7 separate regions of the Homo sapiens genome follow, and regions 2, 3, 4, 5, 6 and 7 are each linked to region 1. The links are contacts of gene promoters, found by promoter capture Hi-C in blood cells and fetal thymus (Javierre and others, 2016). All regions are on one chromosome and are shown on one strand. Each heading gives the region's core, a stretch centred on a gene start or on the middle of the fragment in contact. The rest is flanking DNA. Distances are from core to core; before and after follow the strand shown. Region 1 holds the start of SLK (STE20 like kinase). Region 2 overlaps NEURL1 (neuralized E3 ubiquitin protein ligase 1). Region 3 holds the start of CFAP58-DT (CFAP58 divergent transcript). Region 4 overlaps ITPRIP (inositol 1,4,5-trisphosphate receptor interacting protein). Region 5 overlaps SH3PXD2A (SH3 and PX domains 2A). Region 6 overlaps ITPRIP (inositol 1,4,5-trisphosphate receptor interacting protein). Region 7 overlaps GSTO2 (glutathione S-transferase omega 2).

Region 1 (3,492 bases), core at 461-2,960:
GTCTATACATTTGTCAAAACATATAAAAGTGCACACTTGCAGCAAACCACCATGGCACGTGTATACCTATGTAACAAACCTGCACGTTCTGCATGTGTATCCCAGAACTTAAAGTATAATTTTAAAAAAAAGCAAACAAGTACTAGCAAAAAAACCAAATGCACACTTTAAATATGTACAGTTTATTGTATATCAATATATTGCAATAACACTTAAAAAAATAGAAGGATCTCAAGGAATTGAATCATCTTAAGCGTCTTACTGGAAGGGGGGTTTTGCTATGCCATTTTGGGGCTGAAGGGCAAAATGACTGGGGGGGCAGACATTATATAAATAGCAATATATACATACATTGTCTCTGCTCCAGATACCGCCATTCATTCATTCATTCACCAGATCTGCCTTCCTATTATATGCCAGGAATGTTGCCGGGTACTTGGATATCTTGATGAACAACAAACCACTGGCCTGAAAGAGCTCCCGTCTGGTGGAGGAGGGGAAGGTAGGTCACCACCTGACGGATTCCAGCCAACGTCCACACTGCCCCACCAGGGAGTGCTGCCCAAGGGGGCTGGAGGCAGATCAGGAAGTGGGGGCCTTAGCTGAGGTGGAGTCACCAAGAGTGACACCAGGTTTACAGTTGTGGAGGTGGCCAGAAGTTAGTTTTACCCTCAAGGGAGTGTCGCAGTCATCAGTTGAGAAGTGGGGGCCCGGCGCGGTGGCTCACGCCAGTACTTTGGGAGGCCGAGGCGGGCGGATCACGAGGTCAGGAGATCGAGACCATCCTGGCTAACACGGTGAAACCCCGTCTCTACTAAAAATACAAAAAAATTAGCGGGGCGTGGTGGCGGGCGCCTGTAGTCCCAGCTACTCGGGAGGCTGAGGCAGGAGAATAGCGTGAAGCCGGGAGGCGGAGCTTGCGGTGAGCCTAGTTCGCGCCACTGCACTCCAGCCTGGGCGACAGATCGAGACTCCGTCTCAAAAAAAAAAAAAAAAAAAAAAAAAGAAAGAAAGAAAAAAAAGAGAAGTGGTCTTAAACAGTTTTTATGTATCTGTGTCTATCTTGCCTGCACACTTAAAACAACAAGAGTAAGAACTAAGATTGAGCGTTTACGGGTGCAGGGGCCGCGCAAAGGGCTTCCATCTATTGTCTCATTCACAACCTTCTGGTAGGGACTATTAGGATCTTCATTTTACGGCGAGGAAACCGAGGCTCGGAGAGGTCACCTGCCCAAGGTCACAGATCTCTCTCTCCAAAGCTCAAGCTCACAACCACCACACAAACTCCCCTCTCACTGTACCTGGGGCCCGTCTGAGAGCGAAAAAGTCCGCTTTCAGGTCCCAACCCTAACAGGTCCGGCTTTCACTCCACAGTTTTTCCCAGATCCAGAATGGAGACAACATCCGCTAGCACAATCAACAGGGTCGTCCCACGGGGGCCGCTCCATCAAGGCCGTGGACTGACAGGATTTGGGGCTTGGAGGGCAAATGAGAAACAATCGTCAGGGACCGAAGAACAAATGCGTCCATCACACCAGCCCCCCGCACCCCGAGCCCCGTGCTCCGCTCACGCGAACCCTCGGGGGCAGCCAGTCTGAGGGACGTAGCGCGCGTGCGCGGGGCCAGAGGGGACGCCCCCACGCGAGCGCGCGGTGAGCAGGGCGCGTGACCGGGCGGGCGCGCAGCCGGGAAAGCGCGCGGGCGCGCTACGGAGTCGGCGTCGGCGCGCGCTCCAGGCCGAGGCTGTGTGGGCTGGGGAGGGAGACAGGCGGCGGCGGCGGCGCCCCAGACCCGAGGGGACGCGCGGGCCTTGCGCCGCGGGAGCGGACGGCGGCGGAGGAGACCCTAGGCTCGCGGCCCGAGGCGGGAGGGCTCGGCTTCTCGACTGCCCGCCTCCGAGGCCGCCGGCCGCTTCTCTCTCCCAGAGTGGCCGCCGCCCCTGGAGACTCGCCGTGACACGGGCCTAAGCCGCCGCCGCGGGAGTCCTGACCGCTCGGACCCGTCGGATCAGGCCGGGTGGGAGCGAGCTTGCGGGCAGGTGCCGCTCCCGGAGGGTGGGCCGGAGGCGAGGCGCCCACCGCGCGGCTCGCGGGCCGGGCTCGGCGGAGGGGCCGCTCGCGCAGCACCCCCACCGCGGGCCGGAGCCCGGGTCGCCGCCCCGCCTTCTCCCGGGACCGCCCGGCCGGAGCTGCGGGGGCCGAGGGACGCCGCGCCCGCCGCCGCCAGCCGGGCTCGCGCGGGAGAGCAGGGAAGAGAAACTTTGCCTTTTATTGTTTTTAGTCCTTAAGTGCAAGGAACTCTGTGTTGGGAGGAAAAATGTCCTTCTTCAATTTCCGTAAGATCTTCAAGTTGGGGAGCGAGAAGAAGAAGAAGCAGTACGAACACGTGAAGAGGGACCTGAACCCCGAAGACTTTTGGGAGATTATAGGAGAACTGGGCGACGGAGCCTTTGGGAAAGTGTACAAGGTAAGAGGGGGAAAACGGGAAGTTGTACTGCGAAGGTAAAACAGCCACTGGCCTGGAGTGGCGGGAGGACTTCTGCTCCCCTGGTCCTTATCCTGTCCTTCTTTTGACTGTTACGGTTCGATGCAACTTTACTTGGCTGATCATCCAAGGAGTAGCTAAGAAGTCGGGTTTACGGTGGAACAAAATGGGGCCTGGATGGAGTTTAAAGAGCGATTGGAAAAGGAGACAGGGTTATAAAGTCTACTCTTTCAAACTTCAAAGGAAATGAGAGTGTTCTTTAATTTATAGGAGGGGTCTGGTTGTGCCCTTCAAGTATTTTAGAATGAGAAACTCATTGCACTTTGCAGTGGATTTGTCTACTGACTGCATTCGCGTGCATGCTTGTACTCCAACAGTTCTGTTTTTAGGGTCCAGTATATATATTTGGTTGTATCTAGAGCTAATACAGAACTAGTTGGGATCAAAGTGATTGCTACTTGCAGTCTCTTCTTGAGTTAGTTGCTTGACAGCATACTATAAAATAGAATGGAATTTCTGACAAAATTTCCAAAAAACCTTCATGTGGTACTAGTTTTAAATATATTTATGGTAAGCATTGACTAGAAGTCAGTATCAGCGCTTAAGCAGTTAAAAACACACACGCATGTATTTATTTCAATAGAAAGAGGCTTGGCGTTTCAACCTGAAGGCATTAATGTTAACTATTTAATATCTCCTAAGGAACATATGAATGATGTCATTGGAGTATTTTCATCCTGAAGGGCGAATTTTTTATGAGACAGCGTTTAGGGGAAGGACCCACAGGGTTGCCTAGAAGTGAAAACGTAAGAAAATAACTTATGTTTATACAGGACTTTGAAGTTTTTAAGTACTTTCAAATAATTTGGCCCCCACAAAAATCTTGTGAGGTAGGCAGGTCAGTATTAGTATCCACATTTCACAGATGAAGATATTGAAATTGTTCACAGTCACATGAGTCTCAGCCTAGACTTGAACTCAGGTCTTCTGAGCCCATATTTAGTATTG
Region 2 (3,492 bases), core at 732-3,231, 390 kb before region 1:
ACCATAATCCCTGGGTATTTTCAAACACTGATTATGGCCCCTAAATTCAATTGGCAGATTGAGATATCCCTTCATTTATTCTTCCTGAATTTTTTTTTTTTTTGGTAAAGAGAGAGAGGGAGACACAGAGATTCATCCAGAGATCTCCTGAGGTGGGCGTGATCTCTCCACCTTCGTTCACTGCCTGTCCTCTGAGATACTCCCCTCTACCCCAGGTAGCCTCAGGATCAGCTTCCTTCCCTGCCTTCTCTTTCCTCTCCGCCCCACTTCCCGCCCCTCCCTCTCTCCATCACCTGCACCTTTACTGCACCTGTATCTTTCTGGGCTTTTCTCTCTCCCTTGACCTAGATCCTCTCACCCTTCTTGCTTTCCCTGGTCTTGGTGTCCTTCTCCCCGCTGCTGTCTCTCTTCTGAAGAAAGTCGCTGTCCATCTTGGTGGCTCTGAGGCTGGGCCAGTCTTTCCTGGGGTGACTGTCCCCCAAACCAATGTCTGATCTTTGGGGATTTTCTGCCAGGCCTGCCCCTGCCCCCTTTGTCTGAAGCCTGTGGTCAAAGCCCTCCCAATCTTACCTGCTCTGTGTTTGTTCCTTAGACCAGAGGCTTCCCAGGGTAGCTGGCACATAGTAGGTAAGCAGGTCAGGCCATGGATGGGTTGTGTCCCCAGACAGAGTGGAGGCAGGGGCTGGTGTCTCTCCCCAGTGGACGGTCCTCCCTGCCCTGGCCAGAATCCAAGCCCACAATGGTGCCCATGCCATGGCCCCAGCAGGCCCTCCTCCCTGTTATGGTGCCCATGCCACAGCCCCAGCAGGCCCTCCTCCCTGTTATGCTGGAGTTCTGCAGATCACCTCTTTCTTTGGGGCGCCCTGGCCCAAGCCCAGGCTGGTATCGTCAAGAATAACAGCTTCCTTCCTCCAGGGAGAAGGACCCGCCAGCAACTAAATAAACACAGGTTTTATGGGGTGATTAATACATGGAAAAAGAAGCTCCTATCCCAGTATCTCAAGGTCTCCTTGCTCCTCTCAGAAATGTCAATTCAGGAAGAGCAGCTGTGAGTCCCAGCAGGACTTGGCTGGCGGGCCAAGAGCCCACTTACAGGGTGCTCCAGAGCATCCCTTGGTGCCTACCACTGCCTAGGCACTAAGCGGGGGCAGGTGGGAGACAGAAGAATCAAAAACCCAGCCCCTCTCCTGGAATAATGTTTTCCCTGGGGGACACATCATATAACTGATGCAAGGTGGCCCAAGTTCAATTCTGCAATCAAGTGTGACCTGAAGAGTAAAACTGTGTGTATGTGTGGGAGGGGAGTGCAGCTAGAGAGCAATCCAGGAGGACTTCCTGTAGGAGACAAGTTTTAAGTCAGGAACTAAGTGAGGTGAAAAGAATGGATTGGTTGAGGAACAATTTAGGTCAGACAGGGGGGTGTCCACAGGTGCAGAGGTGGGGAATTGGCGGTCAGTAGGGGAGCAGATCCAGGAGGGGAAGGAATGAGGTAGAAAGGTAGTGGGTGACTTGTGGAGGTGAGGGGTGTGCACAGGTGTGGGTATGTGTATGCATCACAGGGGAGAGAGCCATGAGAGCTGAAAGCTTCCAGCAGCTTTTGTGCTGTCAAGTTGTTCAGTAAGAGGGACTGGCTGGTTGACAGTGGAGAAGTATGAGACCCAGAGATGGGGAGAGGCCTGCCCAAACTCTCCCAGCTGCTCATCAGCCAGGCCAGGCCTGGAACCCAGATCTCTCAGGCTGATCTGGGAGTAAGGTCAGAGGGAGGAGGCTATCAACACATCTAAATGGTGGGGCTGGGTCCGGGAGGGTTCTAGGAGGGGATGAGGTGGGGGCTCCCGAGGGCTTATGCATTCTATTCCATCCCTTGCCATGCACAGGTTCCCAGGTCTTGGTAAAAGACCCACGCCTGCCTACTGAGGAGAGAGCTGTATGGAGACTCTCAGGATGGGCTTCCAAGGGTCATGTGCTGCTGGGTGGGTTCTCCAGGCCCCCTGGAGATAGGGGCCTAGGTCAGGTCCCCTATCCAGGGTGTGCCTCAGCTTGGAGGTGCTGAGCATGAGTGATCCCCAGCCGAGGACCACACTGCCATCTGGGCCTTCTGCTTCCCAGGCTAAACCAATATTTACCCTCAGCTGTGGCTGCTAGGGGCCAAGAGGCAAATATTAGTTTAAGGAGCCTGAGCCAGCTGTTGGGCTGGGGGAAACAGCTGAGGCTGCCGATCATGATTTCTTCCTCTTTGATGATTTTCATTTCTTTTTGATTAAGAAAAAAATCTTGCTTTTCCTTCTGCTTCAGAGGGTTTTCTGGTGCTTCCTTTCTGCTTACCCCAAATTCTGCCAGCTATATCAGTGCCCCACACCAAACCCTCCCCTCCATTAGGAAGCTTTCCCAGACCTCCCTCATTCAAAATGACCCTTCCTCCTCCTGACCATCGGAAGCACTTGGAGACCTAAGTGGTATAAGCAGCTTTGAGTCATGTATTGTCCTGCTCTTTAAAGATCCAGCATATATCCTCTTTGTATATAAAGGAAGGTATTATTGTGCCCATTTTGTAGATAAGGAACAGAGGCTGAGAGAGGTCTGATAACCTGCCCAAGGTCACACAGCTGGCAGTTGGTGGAGCTGGGATTTGAACCCAGGAGCTTGGGCTACATTACCTTCCAGCTTCTCTAGATGTGAGTCCATCTGATCTCCCTATTAGGTCTGGATACCCGACAAGAGCGGGGACAGTGGCCCTCCTGTGCCTTCCAGAGTCGAGCTTACAAGAGCTCAAGGCATCAAGGATCAACTGCACATGTTGGGCACAGATAGGCCACCAGGGCCCCAGCAGTGCTGGTACAAGGAAGAGGGGCAGTGCAGCGCCCAGGATGCCAGATTCAGTGGGGAAGGTCGGTCTGCCTGCCTTATAGTTCCCCGGAGGCTCCCGAGGGCTTTGTCTGGTTCAGTTATTCCTGTGCACTCTAGTTTTCTACCACAATGAATATATATCAAGTTGAACCATATGTAATCACCAGTATTGGACTGTTTTTAACTTACAAGAAAGGCAATCTCATGTTTGCCCCTAGCATCTCTTGGGCCCAAGAGATTGTACTGGGGCCTTGGAGAGAGTGGTGGGGCTCAGGGTGGGGTGTATGTGGAGGGAGGAGCTCGGGCCTTGCAGTATTGGGGACAATGCCTTCATTTAAGATGCAGGAGACCCACTGAATCAAGGCTTGACTTGGCCACTCATTAGCTCTGGGCAGTTCTCAGCTTCTCTGTGCTTCAGCCTCCTCATTATTTGGGCATAATTATACACACCCCACTTACCTCACAGATGTGGAAAGGCATTTACACAAATGAGAAGGGCTTTTGTCTTTAGGTTAAAAAGGAATACCTAATTTAAAGACACCGCCCTCCACGGCCAAAAAAGCCAACCCCTCAAACCAGCTCTTCAACTAGAAGAGGGAGCCTTGAACCCAGGTCTCTGTATCGGGCTGAAAGGAAAACCATGCA
Region 3 (3,492 bases), core at 318-2,817, 390 kb after region 1:
TCAAGTAGCCTATGAATGTATAAAGAAATGGTCAAAAAATTCACTAGTAGTTAGAGAAGTGAAAATGAAAGCAAAAAATGAGCTTACACTACTTTCATCATATTGACAGAAATTAGAAAATTAGCTAATTAGATGAGTCAATATTTGCAAAGCACTTAGAATAGTATCTGGTATTTACTAAACACTTTATGAGTGTTTAATAAAAAAGACCTATCACCTTCTGGAAGGGATGGATGGAAGTGTTGGATGGAAACCCCACACTGGAGTGCAGCGTAGGGCAGTAACTCTGGTACACAATCTTAAAGTGCTTGGTAAGTACCCAGGGCTTGTACTAGGCTACTGGGCATCGTTGTGCTCTTGGAAAACTGTTCATCTGGCCAGATGAGTTTGAAAATATCACACCCTCTAGATAGTTACAGCCTTCTAGGTTCATGACTTGGCTGGCGTACAGAGATTTTGTGAGAATAAAAAGTGCACACCTTTCTCCAGTAGGGCACATGGCACGGGAAAGAGAGTAGAGACAGTTTTTCAGCCTCCATTGCCCCATGGCTGGATGTGTTTGTGCAGGACGCAGCTGCATAAGCAAATGTCCCTGTGCATCCCTATAACTTTAACAATCTTACTCCTTGGCATATATTTCAGAGGAATTTGCACAGAGGTCCTTAAGGGACCACGGACAAAGACGATCATGGCTGTATTACTTGATGTATTGGAGAATTAGAGGCGGCCTTGTTACCTAACACCTGGGGAATGGAAGTGAAGTGTGGTAGATGCCCCTTATGAAACGCTGTGCAGTACTCAGAAGCAATGAACTATATGCTTGCCAATCGCAACGAGGACAGATCCTTAAAAAGAATGTTGAGTGAAAAAAGTAGAAAATAAGATAATCTCCAAAGTCCAGTAGCATTATTTAAACATTTTTAAAAAATACACTGATAAAAATTTTGTACATTTCCCAAAAATACATATGGAAGCACAGCAGCATGAATGCCTATGGGGTTGAGGATAGGGGTTGGGAGTAGGGATGGGGATAAAGGGGGAAAATAAAACCAGAGAGGAGTCTTACACATTTCATGAACCAAGGAGTATAATTATTTCAACTATTTGTACCTGAAGTCCAGAAAGAGTGGAGGCAGAAGGGGGAGAAGAGGGCGAAGAAACGTTTTTGGGAGAGGGGTCCCAGAAGAGAGATTTTCGCGATGTGGCGCTACATACGTTTTTCCAGGATGCCTTAAGCTCTGCACCCTATTTTTCTCATCACTAATATTAGATTAAACCCTTTGAAGACAGCGTCTGTGGTTTCTCTACTTCAGCTTTCCCTCCGTGTCTTGCACACAGTAGCTGTTTTACAAGGGTTGAACTGACTGAAGTGAGATTATTCCTCGTTGTCTCGGAAGGCAGAGTGTAGCCGCCAGTCCTTCCCTCATCCGGAACCTTCTGGTCCACATTTCCTTCCAAGCGTTAGTCCTCGGCTCTCCATGCTTGGCTCCCTAGTGTCACACACCGTCCTTTCTGGGTGGCCTCTTCCAATTCGCCCTCTTCTTTCTCCTGGGTGTCTCCATCTGCCCACACCGTGGGACTCCTCCCAGCCTCTCAGGGGCACCGCCCCCTCACTTCCTTGGCTCCGCCCCATTGGGATATATTTGCATATTTCTCTGAGGAACCCTGCCCAGGTGCCAGCCGCAGAAGCTCCTCCCCTTTCGAATTCCCGCTAGCGCCCCTAGAGGGCGTGTCCGTTGCCAGGCGACGGGCCGACGCGCCGAGCGCGGGTTTCCGCTCGGGGCGGGCGATAGAGACAGCGCGTCGCGCCTTTAGCTTCTTTCCCAGACTCCGGCCCAGCTCCTGCGATCTCCACAGCAGCCTCTGAGGCCGCCCCCAGAGAGCATCAGGATGGCTGAGGTCAGGAGTCAGCGCCCCTCTGTCGCCTTTCCCTTGACCCCTCCCCATTGTCCCTCTCCTACTGACGATTGTCACAAACGGTGATTCCAATATTTCCCCCCATCAACATCTTATTCCCCTGCACCCTCACTCACTCCCGCGCCTTTCTCCGTTGGCTCTGGCCTCTTTACCTCCTGTTTCTCCTTCATTTGTGTGGACACCCCACTATCCCCACTGTGGCATCGGCGCTATGCTAAGTGCGGTAGAAAATTAATGAATTCTGAAATCCACACGTGACATGCACCCAGCCCTAGATTTTTAGTCATGGAGTGATACCATAAGAGAGGCTCACACAGAAATATTGGAGATGTCTTATCTCACAGGGGAAACCGGGAAGAAAGCTTCACAGATGCCTGCTGTCATCCCAATCAATGGCCCTTGTCCACCTGTCACACCCTGATTTCCTAACATGTGATCACCTGCTGTCACACAGCTTCATTAAGGCTCTTCTGCCCATCACCTCTGCCCCGTGTGTTCATTGACTCCTGTGTTAACATCTCGTATCACCCCACCACTCCCCCATATTACAGTACACCCCATTTTCAGCCTCTCCAATGAGGGGTTATTTCTGCAACCCTTCAGTGACTCCCTGCCTGCCCCTTAGCCCCCTCACGTATAACCTCAAGAGCCTCGGGTCCCTGTCATTACTTGCCATTCACAGTCCCCATCCACTATGGCCCTACCCAAATCCTTCATGGCCCCATCAGAGCCCTTCCCCCATCACCCATCCCACGGTCTGTTCCAGCCAGGACCAGCTACATGATTTGCAAGGCCTGATGCAAAGTGAAAACACAAAGTCTCTTCAAAAATTACAAATAATTTTAAGACAGAACAGCAGAGCATTCAACCAAGAATGGGGCCTTTCTGAGCAAGGGGCCCTGTGCAACTGACCAGTTTTCACTCCCATGAAGCCAGCCCAAGCCCCATCATCTTTCAGCACCATCGTGCTCCACCCCCTCCCCACCCCATTCTAGTTACTCTCTTGCTTCCTCTGCACCATTCACATCCCCTCATCATTGCTTTTCCTCCATCTCCAGTCTAGCTTTATAAATTCCGTCTTCCCGTGGTCAACACCTCCTTCCTTTCCTTATCATACGATCTCTTTCATATCATCCATCTTCCTCACGCCTGGGCTCCATCACTCACATCTCTCTCTGACATCCATGCTGCTGTGGCCACTTCACTTCTCCCCATTACCCATAGTCATTTGTATCTCTTTCTTCCCATTTCCTTTCTTGTTCCTTCTAGTTCTTTATTGTCCCATTATTGCTTTTGAGTGTTTTCTCCTCTTTTCTCCCACCAGTCATCTTTGTTTATTTCATTCTTCATTCCCCATAGGGAAGCCCCAGCCTCCCAGAGGCACCAGCCCCTCATTTCCTTGGCTCTGCCCTATTCAGGATATATTTGCATATTTCTGTGAGGAACCCTGCCCAGGTGCCGGCCTCAGAAGCTGCTCCACTATTATGGATTAGTTATTTCCATTTCCCTCTTTCTGTTACTCCTCTCGTTTCTTCCTTTCTTCTACTTTTCTTCTTACTTGACCTCAGCCAACTT
Region 4 (3,492 bases), core at 385-2,884, 370 kb after region 1:
CACTGTGTTATGCACCTGGAAGTGAGTCATTTGATAATTGCGGGGCTTTGTATTTTTCCTAGGGACTTCCAGCAGAGGACTGCAAAGTGCTCTGAATATTATCAGGAACTGGTTGTTACTGTGCCTATTAAACAGAAAAGCAAACAGTGCTGGAAGGGAAAGCCTTTCCTTCCTTTCACCCTCAGATAGCTCAGGCCACACTCACAGAATCTCTTGGCAGAAGGAGTCTCCAAAGCTCACTAGGTCTGCTAATATCAGAGTGAGACAGCAGGAAGGGACCAGAAGTCTCAGGCCTGGAGTTGGTGGTCTGCTTGCTGTTTTCTCAGTATTGACACTTAAAACTTTGTGGGATTCTTTATGCCATCTGTATGTGTTCTGGGCTACAGTGTCCAGACAGACGCCTGAGGTGGCAGAAAGAGTCCAAGGCCCTGGGAGAGAGCAAATCTAAATTCGAATCTCTTCTCTGTTGTTGTCCGTTTGGGGCAAGTCCCTCTGAGTCTGTTCTTTCACCTGTAAAACTAGGATAACACCCACCTTGAAGGGCCATTGTGAGGAGGAGAAATAAATATGTGTAAACCCCTAGAATGGGGCTTTGCTCAGTAAATGAAGCCACTATTTTTTTTTAATAAGGCCATTCTACTTATATGAACAATGTCATATCCATAACGGTGGATTCTGCAGATTAATGATACTCTAATTTTTATTTATAAACCTGAAAAAGCTAGGTGCATACAAGAATTAGGGCAATGACTTTAGCCACCGAAATGCTGGACATCAGAAAAGCACCTGAAGTTATGCCTAGTTGCACAAAACAAAAACTTTAATCAGGTGCCTTCAAGTGGAAGGACAAGGCGATTCCTGAAACCTCTACAGAGACACCTACTATATCATCTAGTTTTTCATCTTTCTTCAGGGCAGGGAGTCCTCCCTTTCCTGCCTCTTTCGTCTCCTGTGCTGACATTTGGCAGCCCTTGCTTAGGAGAAGCAGCAGGCATCACCTGATAAGATGTGGCGGAAACACAGGTCACCAAGTTAAGAGCATCAGAACTGCTGAGTGACCTCAGCCTTGTAAACAGTGCCATCCCAGGGACAAGATGGACATCCATGGCTGCCCCCTCTGACTCCACTCCCAAATTAGCAAGTGTATCTCAAGCACACCCAACTGAAAGCATTCCATGAATTTAGTTTAACCCATCTAGAATTCCACAGGGAATGCTAAGTTGAGTGAGGTGAACTGTGAGACGGGATTCCTATCTCCAGTTGGTCCTGCCTCTTGGGGCAGTGGATTCCATACACTCTTCCTCTCCATGTGCATTTCATCATAACGCTCCACGAGGCCGCTGAATCCCTGGCACAGGCCATGCATAACAGATACACAATGGCTGCTCGATCAATGAAGCCCCCGTAATAAGGATGTGAGCATCCTATTTCTCACTCTCTTTTGTGGGGAGGCTGAAGAATGGAAAGTCACTTTTCTGATGGCCCCATCACTGCTCCAGCCTGCCCTTCCCCTAACCCTCCTTACAGATCCAGGCTGCAGGAGGACCCCTAAGGAGTCCCGTTCAGAGAACTGAAGGAGACTGCAGCTGTCAGCACTGCGCTCTCTGACCCAAGGCCTAAAGACCCACCACCAACTGACACAGCCCAGATCTGAGACTGCAGCACCTCCCTCTTCTATTCACCCTGCCGCTAACTGGGCCCATCCTCTCCCCAGCCTCTGAGAAACACACCTGTGAACGTTACACCTTCTATGTCCCTTCCCTTCAACATGCGTCTCACACTTGAGGCCGATTTTTCACCTCCCCGTCCGCCTTAGGGTGGAGGCGTTGCCCTGAGCAACAGTGATGTCACCTGCAGGGTGCTTCCGTTTCACTGATGTCACGGGGTGGGCCTAACAGATAGAGGGGGGATGTGCTCTCTGTGGGGAAACGTCACAGGTCCTAAACTGTTGAGGAGGGGTCTACAGGCCTCTGGGGCACTCCCAAATGACCCCTTTCCTCGCCCAGAAGAGCTCCTTACCCTTCCTTCCTCTCTGGATGCCTGTTAGAGCTCAGGCCTCAAATCTGACTTTCCCTCTGCCAGAGTCAGCCAAAAGATCAGGATGAGCAGCTCCAAACAAACTGCTGGAAAGACCACTGAGGATAGATGTCCTCCCCGTCTAGGACAGTCTAGGTCCCTACAGCCTTGTCCTTTGTCCAGACCTCAGAGGAGGGAGCAGTGACCTGATGGGGAAGTTGGGGCCCAAGTCGGCAGAGAATGCAGACCTCCAACCGACCTCTGCTGTCCTGAAGAGCGCACACTGGCCAGGTTTCCAGTCTGCGCCAGGCACGGTGCTCAGAGCCTTCTGTGCATCGTCTGGGTCAACCCTCCCCACAGCCCTGAGGGTCATCCCCATTTTACTGATGATGTTACCGAGACTTGAAGAATCAAGGCACCTGCCCAACTACTGAGAACGCCCAACCACCGAGTGGTGGAGCCAGGACTCAACTCAAGTCTGCCCCACTTCAAAGCCCGTGCAGTCACACCGCCTTGGCTCTGGGCACCTGGAGATGTGGCTCATTAAAGATGAGCCATGAAGGGCCTGGACAGAGACCAGAAAGAGCCCTTTAAATCTAAAGAGGCCAGCTGAGCAGGGCAGGCTGCCTGAGGCAGCCGAAGCAGGCACTGCTTTAGGAATGCTTCACCCCCTGGCCTACGCAGGGGATGCAACAACTGGCCAGCCTTGGCCCAGCCTCCATGCTGATTGGGGACCACGTGTCTTTGCTCTATGCTTGGCTTTCTATTGATCCATCCAGGTTACCGGATCATCCTCTTGATTTGCATATAGCACTTACTCTCATGGCCTGGCCCTACAACTCTGAGATTGTACAGTAGTTATCGAATTTACGCAAATGCAAATCTATGTCTCTGGGAGCTAATGCTTGCAAAGCACTAAACAAATAGGTAAATAAAATAAAAAATTACTACATTATGAGAGAGGAAAGGGAGAAATGCTACCAGGATTTCTCAGGGAAATACTGCCCTTGAGGCACTGGCCAAGGAGATGCCCATAGCCAGGCTGACCTGAGTATCCAGTCTACCTGGCAGCTATCTTTCTGCTGGTGAGAGGGCCGCAGAGGTAGACAAAGCCCTGCACTATTGGACATCACTGTCCCCCACCCTCACCCCATGCTGCTCCTGCCTGGTTCTGACTCCAGCTTTGATAAGCGCAGTCCACCTTCTGGTCTTTGGTTTCCCATATGGCTTGTCTAGGACGCAGGGAAGAGACGACATTCAGTCTGTGTGATGTTTGCGAAGTCTCCTTGCAAATTAATAAACCAGCATTCTGATTCGTACACCCTCTTCTGGGAGCTTTCTCAGGGTGAATCAGTAGCTTGAGTCCAAACCACTCTGAAAATTATGGAAATTGGGTTTCTGAGCGGGCACAGCTAAGAGCCATGCCCTGGGACAGGTGACGTGATCCAGGTAAACACCACCCTCTGAGCAATCTGC
Region 5 (3,492 bases), core at 639-3,138, 350 kb before region 1:
GGGCACTGAAGCTTGTAGAGGGCAACTGGCTTACCTACAGTCTCTCCGCCTCTAAGTGTCAGAAGTGGAATCCGAATCCATGCCTGGCACTTGAAGACACACTCTTTCCACTACATCCCACTGCGCTTACTAACAGTTCTTTGTTCCAAGGCTCTCAGCCTGCCACCAGCATCGCAGGCACCCCAAGCCCTGGCCCCTGATGCGTATCTACCTGCCCGAGGGTCTGGACACCAGGAAACCCCACCCACATGAACCAGGGACCCTGGCAGTGTTAACCTCTTAAAGCTGGGGCGTGAGCCACTCCTTGCAACTCACACTCCTCCCTGGAAGACGTTCACTGATCTGCCCTCTGCCCTCCCAGACTCTGCCATCCACCACCTCCACTGGGCATTCCTGACCAGGGAAAGCTGAAAGGCTTCCAGGCTAGCATGGACAGGAGCCCCATTTCCAGCCTCTGGCAATGCCCTGGCTGGACACTTTTGCCGGGCAGTCTAAATGTTTATGTCTGCCAATGCAGTGGCTGGGATGGATTTATTTAGCTTTGGAGTGCAGTGTGTTTCCGATTATAAACTGTCCAGCCAGGCCTCCAGGAAGGCTGGGATCTGCAGGCTTCCCTCCCTGCCCCTAGCCCCACAAAACTAGAAGCCCCAGCAGGGCTCTGGAAAACCCCTGGATCAAGAGGCTCTGCCGCAAGATAGCCAATTGATCGGGTGGCTATAGCGCATTCACAGAAAAGGAAGGAAAGGGGAGAAGAAATTCAGTACACATACCAGGCTGGATTCTCTGCGTGGTGGAGGTCTTGTCCGTAGGTTCGGGGAGCCTAGAGGAAGAGACATGGCTTCAGAAATCCTAGTCAGACGATGGGCAACAGTACCCATACCTGCCTTCCCTAGGTGAAACTAACTCCTGATCCTTCAAGTTCATGCTTTAGCTCAGCCTTTATGAAGGACTTGACACTCTAAGTCACTATGGGCACTGTGGTTGGGCTTTTTCAAGGGGAAACTATAGACCTTTACCTTGGCTGTGCTTCCAGGGGATCTATGAACACTCTAAAATTATGTGCACTTTTCAAAATGTGCAGCTATGTGGGCATTTTTCAGGGTAACGGGTGTATAGATTTATCAGGTTTTCAAAGTTAGGAGCAGAGACCATGTCTGTTTTTTGCTTACTATTAAATCCATAGAAGCTAGCATAATGCCAGGCAAGAGGAGGTGCCCAATAACTGTTTCCCAGCTGGTTCCCTAAAAGATTTCAGGCACGAGAGCTAACTTAACCCAGTGGAGCTAAACTAAAGAAACAGCTTTCCTCCAGATTTTAAGAATGGCTGGACACAAACAAAAGCTAGGTTCCTATAACATGGAAGTTTTAAGCCTCAACAAAAGGCATTATTGGGCCAGAGATGGAGGGTGCCAGACTGCCTGGAGTCTCCTGTAGAAATGAAGATGATTCTTGAAGAACGCCCTGTTGAAACTGCCTGTGTAGAGTGGTAAAGCCTTAGCTCCCAAGTCTCTTAGGTTTCCAGTAACGAGTGGAAAGTCATAGGGAAGGAGCTGCTAAGGCCCAGAAAGACGTTTCTCTACAGACTGTCACTCCATAGGGCAGCCCTGCATATAGCACCCACATTCAACAGCCCAGGGAAATGTGTTTTTTTGATTTTTTAAAAGTCAGCTACACATCATCTATCTTGATTTATAAAGCCTTTACCATAAGGAAAAGAAAACATTTCTTGCTCTTGGAACGCGTGTATCTGCAGAGTGACCATTGCTGGCTCTCCACTAGAGGAGGGAACGCTACCACCCACATCCTCATGTGATCTAGCTTCCGTGGAGCAGCTGGGAGCAGTTGAGTCATCATACTCCTCTGCCTTCTCCACTCCTGTGATGAGCATGACACAAGTTGACAGAGTGAGGGTCAAAGGCCAGTCTGTAGCCCAGGAGGAAAACGCCATGGGGGTCCTGTGCACCCCCCTGGCTTTCACGGCACCCATGCCCATTCTCTAAGGAGCTTTGCAGTGAGGACCTAGAGGTCAGCGAGGCTCTTACTGATCTGGGCCCGCTGAGGGGCAATCCTGGCCACAGCTGGAGAGCCCTGGGCCAGCCTGGAGACAGTCCTGTCAGGAACGCCCACGGCACTGCCATTGGAGGCATTGCAGAGGATGGGCAGGCTGATCTCCTTCTTGGCAATGGGGGCCTCATGGCCCTCGCCTTCGGCTGGTGGAGTTTCCTTGTCCCCAGACGCCTTCTTGTTCAGCAGGTTGCTGATCTCCATGATGTTCCCAATGATCTCCACTGGGCCGGCCAGGTTCTTCTTCCGGGTTGGCAGGTCATCCTTGGCCTTCTTCAGGTAGGATGCTGGCGCCCAGCCCTCTTTGCCCAGGTATCTGTGGGGAGGAGCAGGATGTGCTATCATTAGAGCACTCTGACCTCACAGCCCACTCCCAGGCCCTAGGATCCATCTGGCCTTGCCCAGTGGAGCCTTCCCTACCATGTTCTGCAAGGCTTGGCAATCCCACTACTCTGGAGAGAAATGGCACCGAGGGTAGATGGAAAAGACACCCAGAACACCAATTCCCACTGCCCCCCCACCATGCTCCTTTTTCTTTGCCTGATCCCTCTTGGGGTGGGCTCTCATGTTCTGCAAAGTCAGGCAAATGTGGGAGCTTGGGATCAGATTTATCAACTTTTGGGTTGCCCAAAGGAGGACTTCATAATGGCCTGCTACTTCCCAGTCAGTTGAGGATAATTAGAGAGATAAGAAGAAGGTGTGGATGTGGTATGTAGAGGTAAATGGCCTGTAGGAAGGGGAGGTATTATTAGAGAGGGAATTGACTCCAGAAGGTGAGAGTCAGGCAGTCTGAGTTCTAGTCTGTGGTACCTTGCACAAGTCCCTTCCCTGGAGCTCAGTTTGTGTCTCTTTTGCAAGATGCAGGGATAGAGTCGCTGCTAAAAATGTACCCAGAAGGACAGACATGTTGAGATCAACTAAGCTGTCTCCAACATCTTAGCTGGAATGGCTCCTCCATGCCAGATGACTGAATGGGACAGCTGTGGTGCCACTGCAGGGAGAGTAGGTGGATCCTCTATAGACTGTCACAGACCAAGTTCACAAACCAGGCTAAATTTACTGTAGTGGAACAAAGATGCATTATTCAATAAGTGATTTGGGGCTGGGCGAGGTGGCTTACACCTGTCATTACAGCACTTTGGGAAGCTGAGGCAGGAGGATCGTTTAAGGCCAGCCTGGGCTACATAGCAAGATCTCATCTCTACCAAAAAAAAATTTTTTTTTTTTTTAATTAGCTGGGTGTGATGGTGCATACCTGTAGTCCCAGGTGCTTGGGAGGCTGAGGTGGGAGGATTGCTTGAGCCCAGAAGTTTGAAGCTGCAGTGAGCTATGATCATACCACTGCACTCCACTCTGGGAGACAGAGTGAGACCCTGCCTCCAAAAATGTAAAAAGTGATTTGGGGAAAACTGATGACCCAGTTAGGAA
Region 6 (3,492 bases), core at 263-2,762, 340 kb after region 1:
GTATTAGCATTCAAGGCTTTGCATGGTTCAGCCCCACTCTTATCTTTTCAACCTCATTTGCTACGACTTCTCAGTATATGCCAACATGTACACCAGGACTGCCTGGGTTGGAATCTGGGCTGTGCTACTTACCACTGTGACAGTAGGTAAGTCAGTTGCCCCTTCAGTGCCTGTTTCCTTATCTGGAAAGCAGGGAGGATAAGAATAGCACCTACATCATAGGACTGACATGGAACTGTGTGCATTAACAAATGTGTGTGCGGAACGGTGCCTGCCATACAGTAGGTGCTTCCCACCCTCACTCCATGCTTCTGGCTGGAATGTCTTTCCTGGCCACAGTCCTGGTCATTTTTCAGAGTCTCTATCTGGCAGCGCCCCACCATGAGGCCTTCCCTAATCAGCCCAGGTACCAGTGGTTCTTGGACATCCAGAATCAGGTGGGGAACTTGGTGAAGTGCAGATTCTTCTACCTAACTTCTCAGGATCCCACTGGAGTCTGTGACACGGCCCAGGAAGCTGCCCCCAGGTGACACCCGTATGTGTAGTGCAGGGTCACACTTGGAATAGCTCAGTACTTGGAAGGCCACCTTCTGCTGCCTCTCCTAGGGAACAGGCTTGGTCCTATTCATTTTCCCATCTTCCACAATGTCTCATGCACGTTAGGCTCCTGACAAATGCTTGTGGACTATTCATGACCTGCTTGGGAGAAGGGCTCACCATCTTATGCCTTCCCACCCTCTCTCTGAGGCTTACGGCACTAGCGTGAATGTGGGTGCCCTCATGAGAAGCTTGTGGTGTAGCTGATGCCACTTAGACCACAGATTCCAAGCAGGCTCATTGGCTTTTCCCAGGTCTATCTATCTTCCAATAGATCTGTAGGGAAAGTAGTCCACTTGGGTTTTCTTTAACTTTCCATTAAGAAAGAAAGTGAGAGGGCTTCCTCAGCTAGGGGTACCATCAGTCACTTGGGGGAAATCTTTAAAAATCGAGCCTAGCCTGACCACTCCAGACTGGATTCTGAGCACCATGTAGGTTCAAGGCGGGGTCGGGGCAATGGACCAGGTTGTCTGGGTGATTCGGATGACACCCTTGATGATGAACCAGAGCTCCACCCCCAGGTTCTCAACGGGGGCTGTGCTTCAGCCAGGCATGCAGAGGGGCTAGAGCTTTTGAGGATATAAGGCCCTTCCCCAACATAACCAGCCTCTTGGCCTAGGGGCCAACTCTATTCATTTCACCCTTGTTATTTTGCAAAGCAAGTGAGCAGTTGCTGGGGAAAGTCAAGCATCCTTGGGAAAGAGACTCTGGGGAAAGAGGGCAGGGTTGTCCTTAGTGGAAAGGCCAAAGTCCCCTAGAGGACTCAAAATCCTCTATTTAAAATACAATCTCTTTCTTTAAAACCCAAAAGCTTCCTGTTAGTTCCAGCTCCTATATTTCTCGCTGACATTAGCTCTGTGAAATAAGGTCTTAGGCTGGAATCCACCCTACAGCCAGCTTTCAAAGGCCCTTTCTGGAGCCCTGCGGGCAGCACACAAGTTGCCTCAAAGACAGGGTAGAAATGTTCTGTTTTGTTATTTTTTAAAGTCTCCTGAAAGTGTAAGAATAAAAAGGGAGTGAAAGCTTCTGCTTTGTCAATAGGAAATCCACCCCCCTGTCCCCAACTCTGCCCTGGGAGCCTCACAGATTTCCTGAAGTTAAAAACAAACAGTGACCATTTCTACTCCTTGCAAGATTTAATTCTTCCTTTAATATAAATAAGGCAGCATGAAACACCAAGAGCCCCACTGCTTTCTGCTTTAGAAGCAGCTTTGGTGCAGAAAAGATTCCCGTTTCCCCACCGAGTTCTGTTGTCTCTGTACACACAAGAAGCCAGAAGATATTTTTTTTTCAGTGAACTTTCTCCTGGAAGCAAAGGAGAAGCTATGGGAGATCCAGGCATGGTTTTGGCTTCTGGAGGCTGTTTTTTGGTTACTGGGGTCTCTTCAAAGCAAAACGGGATCAGGATGAAGAGGGGGAAAGGCATGGGCCATAAATAAATAAGGAAATTTGCCCCGATTCTACAAATGCATCTGATGGAATGAGGAGGGTCAGGCTGTGAGGGATTGGGGGTAGCTCCAGGCTGCTGTTAGGGACACACTTGAGCTGGTTCATTCCCTGGAGTGCCCCGCAACTGCGTCTAGGGAGAGGCAGGCCCAAGCACATGTTCAGTCTAATTCCAGCTCACACTGGAAGGCTTCCTATAGGTTTGGTTGCCCTGATCACAGCCGAGCTGCCCCACCAGGAATTAACCCTGGTGGGCAAAGGGTCCATCTTCTCAAGCTTTCTGAGGCTGGTTGAGAGCACTCCTGGGGATGGGGGAAGGATCTCCTTCCTTCAGTTTGTGGGGTAACTGGGCACCCCTGTCAAGTTGGTTATGCTCTCGGGAAGGCATGGCCGGCTTAAACCCTGGAGGAACACGGTATATTCTTGACTCCCTGGCCCCCTGCAAGGGTAACTGAAGTAACGGTGAGATAGGAAATCTCAAAGGGCCAGTGAAGCCACAGGTGGAAAAGAGCCTTCCTGATCCCCCTGAACCAGACCTGGAGACGGAGCCCAGCTCCAACCACAGAGCTTCTGCCAGGCTCTTTGGGTCTGGGTCATCTGTGTGGTCAGCAGTGCCCACACAGAAGGGGTGGGTTCTGTGCAGTGAGGGAGCCCCGCTGGAGTGAGGAACTAGGGGCTCAGAGCCTGCAGACTGGAGCTAGGTTTCCATAGTTCTTGCTTCCATGCACACCCTGCCCTAGGATTGGGACCCTGAGGACAACCTGGGGCTATGACATCCTTGGCCCCTGATCTCTGCAACTTTCTCTGAACTGGGCCAGACTGCAAGCCAGACACCACCACCCCGGGTAGCATTTTTGAGCACCTCATCGAAGGAGTCTACTGTCTTACAGCAGAGACTTCGCTGCAGGACGCAGGGCCAGAAGAGGTTGAGAGGCTTGGCTCTGCGCACAGCCTCTGGGAGTGCCATGGCCTCAGGTGCCTTGTGGTTGCCAATGAAGAAGTGATAGAGTTTCTTTTCCAGCTGTCCTTTGCCACAGTCACCCCGTGTGTCTCTTTCTCCAGGTCAGCTTCCACCTTTAGCATCTGTCCTCCCCCTACCACAATGATAGTCAGAAAGACCAGCTTTGGAGAGAATAAAGAGAGGTGGGGGGCTGCTGAGCTGGCACCCAGTGTGGCAAATACCCACCACGCTCGGGACCCAGTACGTTGGGGAAAGGACAGCAGAAGGGGGTGCACCTGAGTGAGAAGTGTAGGGTGCAGCTGAGTGAGAAGTGTAGCTGAAAAAGTGGCTAATTGTGTTTCTCTATGCCACCAAGTACCCATTTCCGTGTGACAGAGACGTTAGTCATTTGGGCCTCGAATTTATACAAGGTCTTTTCTCCAAATAGTATAAAAAAGTGGCAGCCATGGTGGGACCACTATTGTGCAGGATGCGGATCAAAGGTGGAC
Region 7 (3,492 bases), core at 498-2,997, 310 kb after region 1:
TACCTGGATGATGCTTATCCAGGAAGGAAGCTGTTTCCATATGACCCTTATGAACGAGCTCGCCAAAAGATGTTATTGGAGCTATTTTGTAAGGTATATTCAATTTAAAAAGTCACTCACACTGTATTTTACTTTGCATGTCTTTCCCAAACCTCAACCCATTTTAAAGCCAAATCATTGGTGAAACTGTTTTGTTTTGATACCATGTGATCCTCAGGAGATTAGCTAGCATGGAATTAGGGTAGAGCATGGCCACTGATATTAAAGGCTTAACTGCTAGGCGCTTCTCCATTTCAACTGGCAGGCTCAGGAGGTATGGTTATGACATGGCAATGACCGTGTAACTTGAAGCAGGAATACTGAAAGAACTGAAAACTGGTGATCCTTAAAGGGAGTATTTCTCCAGCTTCAGGTAAAAAGTAATGGAGTGCGAAGATTATGCATAGAAGGTGATGCTTTTTTATTATTTTTTTTTTGAGACGGAGTCTCGCTCTGTCACCCAGGCTGGAGTGCAGTGGCACCATCTCGGCTCACTGCAACCTCTGCCACCTGGGTTTAAGCAATTTTCCTGCCTCAGCCTCCTGAGTAGCTGGGATTACAGGCGCATGCCACCACACCCCCTAATTGTTGTATTTTTAGTAGAGATGGGGTTTCACCATATTGGCCAGGCTGGTCTTGAACTCCTGACCTCAAGTGATCTGCCTGCCTCGGCCTCCCAAAGTGCTAGGATTACAGACGTGAGCCACTGTGCCTGGCCAGTGATGCTCTTTAGAAGCATAAGAGTGCCTGCTGTCCAGGAAATGTGAAGAATAGATAAATGGTGGCAGCTTTGATAATGAAAGAAAAAAGAATGGAGAAATTTTAAGATGGTGTCTTTGAAAAGGAATTTTTAAAAACCTCAATGATATTAACAGCTGACATATATCGAACACTTATGATGTGCCAGGCACTGTCCTAGTTACTTTGTAGGAGCTAACTCATTTAATCCAACTGCCCTTTGAAGTGGGTACTGCTATCGTATCCATTTTTCAGATGAGAACACTGAGGCTTAGAGAGGTTGAGTGTCCCACCTAAGAATGTATAGCATGGAAGCAGCTGATCAAGTAAGGAGCACTGGAGAAACCCTCCTAAAGCACCCTGCTTTCCCAGGGTACTATAAGAAGTAGATTCCTACTGAGAACCGGAACCACAGAGAAAACCTAGTGCCTCTCACAGGGAGCTGGGGGGTCTGATGTGGGTGTTGCCCTGTTAGGCTGGAGTTATAAAGCTTCGCTGCCTTTTCAGGCAGAACAGGAACTGGAAGTTTCCACAGACTTCTCCACTGAGAACCTGTGTCCTCTGATTAGGTCCCACATTTGACCAAGGAGTGCCTGGTAGCGTTGAGATGTGGGAGAGAATGCACTAATCTGAAGGCAGCCCTGCGTCAGGAATTCAGCAACCTGGAAGAGGTACAAAAAGGGGTCCCTCTCCTGGTCAGCTACAGTGGAGGAAGCTAGGCAGGGTCGCTAACCTGGTCACTCTAACACCAGCTTTCACAGGCTTATTCTTTCTGCCTTTGATAAGTCAGACTTCTGATCATCTGATTGCATGTTTGCCCTCCTCTAACCTGGTCTAGAATTATTCTGGAAAATCTGATGAGGAGTTGGGGAGGACATGCCATGAATTGCTTCCTTTCCCAGAGTCACCCCATCTCCCTGAGTAGCTCTGCATGGCTTCTGTAGCTTCTGCCAATGAGGTCAAGGTCTGTAAAGGTTAGGGGTTGTGTTTGGCTGCTGAAGTCTAACTACTGTAAATTCATGTTGTAAGGGTTTACTCTCTCACATAACATTCTTTCTCACGTATTATAAGGGTTTATTCTCACACATACGGTGGCTCACACCTGTGATCCCAGCACTTGGGGAGGCTGAAGCAGGAGGATCACTTGAGCCTAGAAGTTTAAGACCAGCCTAGGCAACATAGCAAGACCCCTCCTCTACAAAAATAATTTTAAAAATTAGCCAGGCATAACGATGTATACCTGTAGTCCCAGCTACTTAGGAGGCTGAGGCAGGAGGATTGCTTGAGTCTGGGAGGTCAAAGCTGCAGTGAGCCATGATTGCACCACTGCACTCTAGCCTGGGTGACAGAGTAAGTAGGACTGACAAAAAAAAAAAAAAAAAAAAAAAAAAGCCAGAGGTAGGCAGTTCAGGCCTATCTTGATGGCTTCTTCATGACATTATCAGGAACTGAAGCTTTTTCTCTTTATGGGCTCTGTCATCCTTAGCACAACTTAGTACAAGGGTATCATCCTCAAAATAACAAGATAGCTGCTGTCACTGCAGCCATCACATCCAAGTTCCAGGCTCTGAAAAGGAGAATATAAAGAAAAAAATGGCAAATGGTCATACCCCTTTAAAGGGCTTTAAATCCTACCAGAAATTCTACTCAATGGCTATTTACATTTCGTTGGCCAGAACTTAGTTGTGGGGTCATAACTATCTTAGAGAAAGCTGGGAAATACAGTCTTTTAGCTGGGATACCCTGAATAAAATCAGAGGTCTGTAATTAAGGAAGAAGGGGGAAATGGGTGCGGTGGCAGGAATACTCTTTGCCAGTAGATGCTTCATTAACCTGGCAGTAATGGAGCTACTTATCCTGTACTTCTAGAATAATCAGGAAGGCAGTTCTTTTACTTCCTTTATTTTTGCTCCAGAAACTGACAAATTCACCTTATGGGTGGGTGGTTCCTCTATTGGCAGCCAGAGAATACAATTTTTTTCCCCTTAAGGGAAGACTGGTTATTAATACTCTTCCATTTGACCTTTATCAAGTGGAAACAGATTAAATGTATTGATATTTCCAGTTGCCTATCTCAAATTTGTACGATTAAGTATTTATGGATGACGAATGGTCATGTGTAGGAAATGTCAACCTTTTGTCCTGAGGTCACCAACTGTGGCCTTGACTCCAAGGAGGCCATATGATGTGGTGGAAAGAATCTTGGATCTTAGGCTTGGCTTTACTGAATTCCAGAACCTTGGGCAATGTTCTGTACCTCTCTGGGCCTTGGTTTTCCCATGTGTAAAATGAGGGATTATTTTGAAATGTGTGTTCCTCAGAGCCTCTGGGTTCTGCAGGGGACTGCCCAGTGAGTGGAGGCCTGGTAGATTGTTCTAGACACTGCTTTACTTAGGTCAGCACTGCCTTCAACCACCATGTTCAACCTGACATCTAAGAAGATGGCATTTGGGGAGAGAGGAGAGCTGCTGCTTTAAAAAAGAAGTTCGAAAATCTTGTGAATAGAGAATTTATAGTCTATTTTAAAGATCAGCTGAATGGACCCCATCATGCCTGGTTACCTTCTCACAGATAAACAAATACTGGACCAGGGAAAGGAGCTGGGAAAAAAAAAACTCTTTGAATTCAACGATACAGTAATTGAAACATTTTCATCAGTTTCCCTTCTACCTCCATTTGGATGATGGATGAACTTTTTAAATTACAGATTGCTAG

Evidence for each region. The method cuts DNA at HindIII sites, captures the fragments that hold promoters and counts their contacts. A CHiCAGO score of 5 or more calls a contact.
Region 2: a fragment that was not itself captured here is called in contact with the fragment with the promoter of SLK in region 1 in 6 of 17 cell types (naive CD8 T cells, non-activated CD4 T cells, total B cells and 3 more); the score reaches 10.3 in naive CD8 T cells.
Region 3: a contact is called between the fragment with the promoter of CFAP58-DT here and the fragment with the promoter of SLK in region 1, in 2 of 17 cell types (fetal thymus and neutrophils). The highest score is 6.8, in fetal thymus.
Region 4: a contact is called between a fragment that was not itself captured here and the fragment with the promoter of SLK in region 1, in 2 of 17 cell types (activated CD4 T cells and fetal thymus). The highest score is 5.7, in activated CD4 T cells.
Region 5: a contact is called between a fragment that was not itself captured here and the fragment with the promoter of SLK in region 1, in 1 of 17 cell types (M0 macrophages). The highest score is 5.4, in M0 macrophages.
Region 6: a contact is called between a fragment that was not itself captured here and the fragment with the promoter of SLK in region 1, in 2 of 17 cell types (fetal thymus and total B cells). The highest score is 5.6, in fetal thymus.
Region 7: a contact is called between a fragment that was not itself captured here and the fragment with the promoter of SLK in region 1, in 1 of 17 cell types (fetal thymus). The highest score is 5.4, in fetal thymus.

The regions. Positions count from the first base shown.
Region 1 is chr10:103,965,430-103,968,921 of GRCh38, forward strand. SLK (STE20 like kinase) reads left to right here and starts at 1,711. Exons shown (of 19, transcript NM_014720.4): 1 at 1,711-2,466. The coding sequence starts at 2,317. It overlaps LOC102724351 (a long non-coding RNA gene), which reads right to left and starts at 1,616. Exons shown (of 5, transcript XR_007062282.1): 1 at 352-1,616. RefSeq lists silencers at 1,573-2,032, 2,073-2,122, 2,133-2,232. The HindIII fragment of the contact is 5,644 bases long and covers 1-3,492 here.
Region 2 is chr10:103,574,901-103,578,392 of GRCh38, forward strand. All of the region lies in intron 3 of NEURL1 (neuralized E3 ubiquitin protein ligase 1), which reads left to right. Among named protein-coding and RNA genes, the nearest start is that of NEURL1-AS1, 59 kb to the left of the region's middle. The HindIII fragment of the contact is 799 bases long and covers 1,583-2,381 here.
Region 3 is chr10:104,352,008-104,355,499 of GRCh38, forward strand. It overlaps CFAP58-DT (CFAP58 divergent transcript), which reads right to left and starts at 1,568. Exons shown (of 2, transcript NR_108036.1): 1 at 1,111-1,568. It overlaps CFAP58 (cilia and flagella associated protein 58), which reads left to right and starts at 1,826. Exons shown (of 18, transcript NM_001008723.2): 1 at 1,826-1,899. The coding sequence starts at 1,891. RefSeq lists enhancers at 39-88, 109-218, 1,496-1,555. The HindIII fragment of the contact is 7,343 bases long and covers 1-2,277 here.
Region 4 is chr10:104,331,608-104,335,099 of GRCh38, forward strand. The region is part of intron 1 of ITPRIP (inositol 1,4,5-trisphosphate receptor interacting protein); the gene reads right to left. Among named protein-coding and RNA genes, the nearest start is that of ITPRIP, 5.1 kb to the right of the region's middle. RefSeq lists a silencer at 1-138. The HindIII fragment of the contact is 5,024 bases long and covers 1-3,492 here.
Region 5 is chr10:103,610,811-103,614,302 of GRCh38, forward strand. SH3PXD2A (SH3 and PX domains 2A) reads right to left here. Exons shown (of 15, transcript NM_001394015.1): 12 at 2,043-2,380; 13 at 771-820. Among named protein-coding and RNA genes, the nearest start is that of NEURL1-AS1, 95 kb to the left of the region's middle. The HindIII fragment of the contact is 3,758 bases long and covers 10-3,492 here.
Region 6 is chr10:104,310,417-104,313,908 of GRCh38, forward strand. ITPRIP (inositol 1,4,5-trisphosphate receptor interacting protein) reads right to left here. Exons shown (of 2, transcript NM_001272013.2): 2 at 1-3,492. Among named protein-coding and RNA genes, the nearest start is that of ITPRIP-AS1, 11 kb to the right of the region's middle. The HindIII fragment of the contact is 212 bases long and covers 1,407-1,618 here.
Region 7 is chr10:104,278,024-104,281,515 of GRCh38, forward strand. GSTO2 (glutathione S-transferase omega 2) reads left to right here. Exons shown (of 7, transcript NM_183239.2): 4 at 1-93; 5 at 1,347-1,448. Among named protein-coding and RNA genes, the nearest start is that of GSTO2, 11 kb to the left of the region's middle. The HindIII fragment of the contact is 964 bases long and covers 1,266-2,229 here.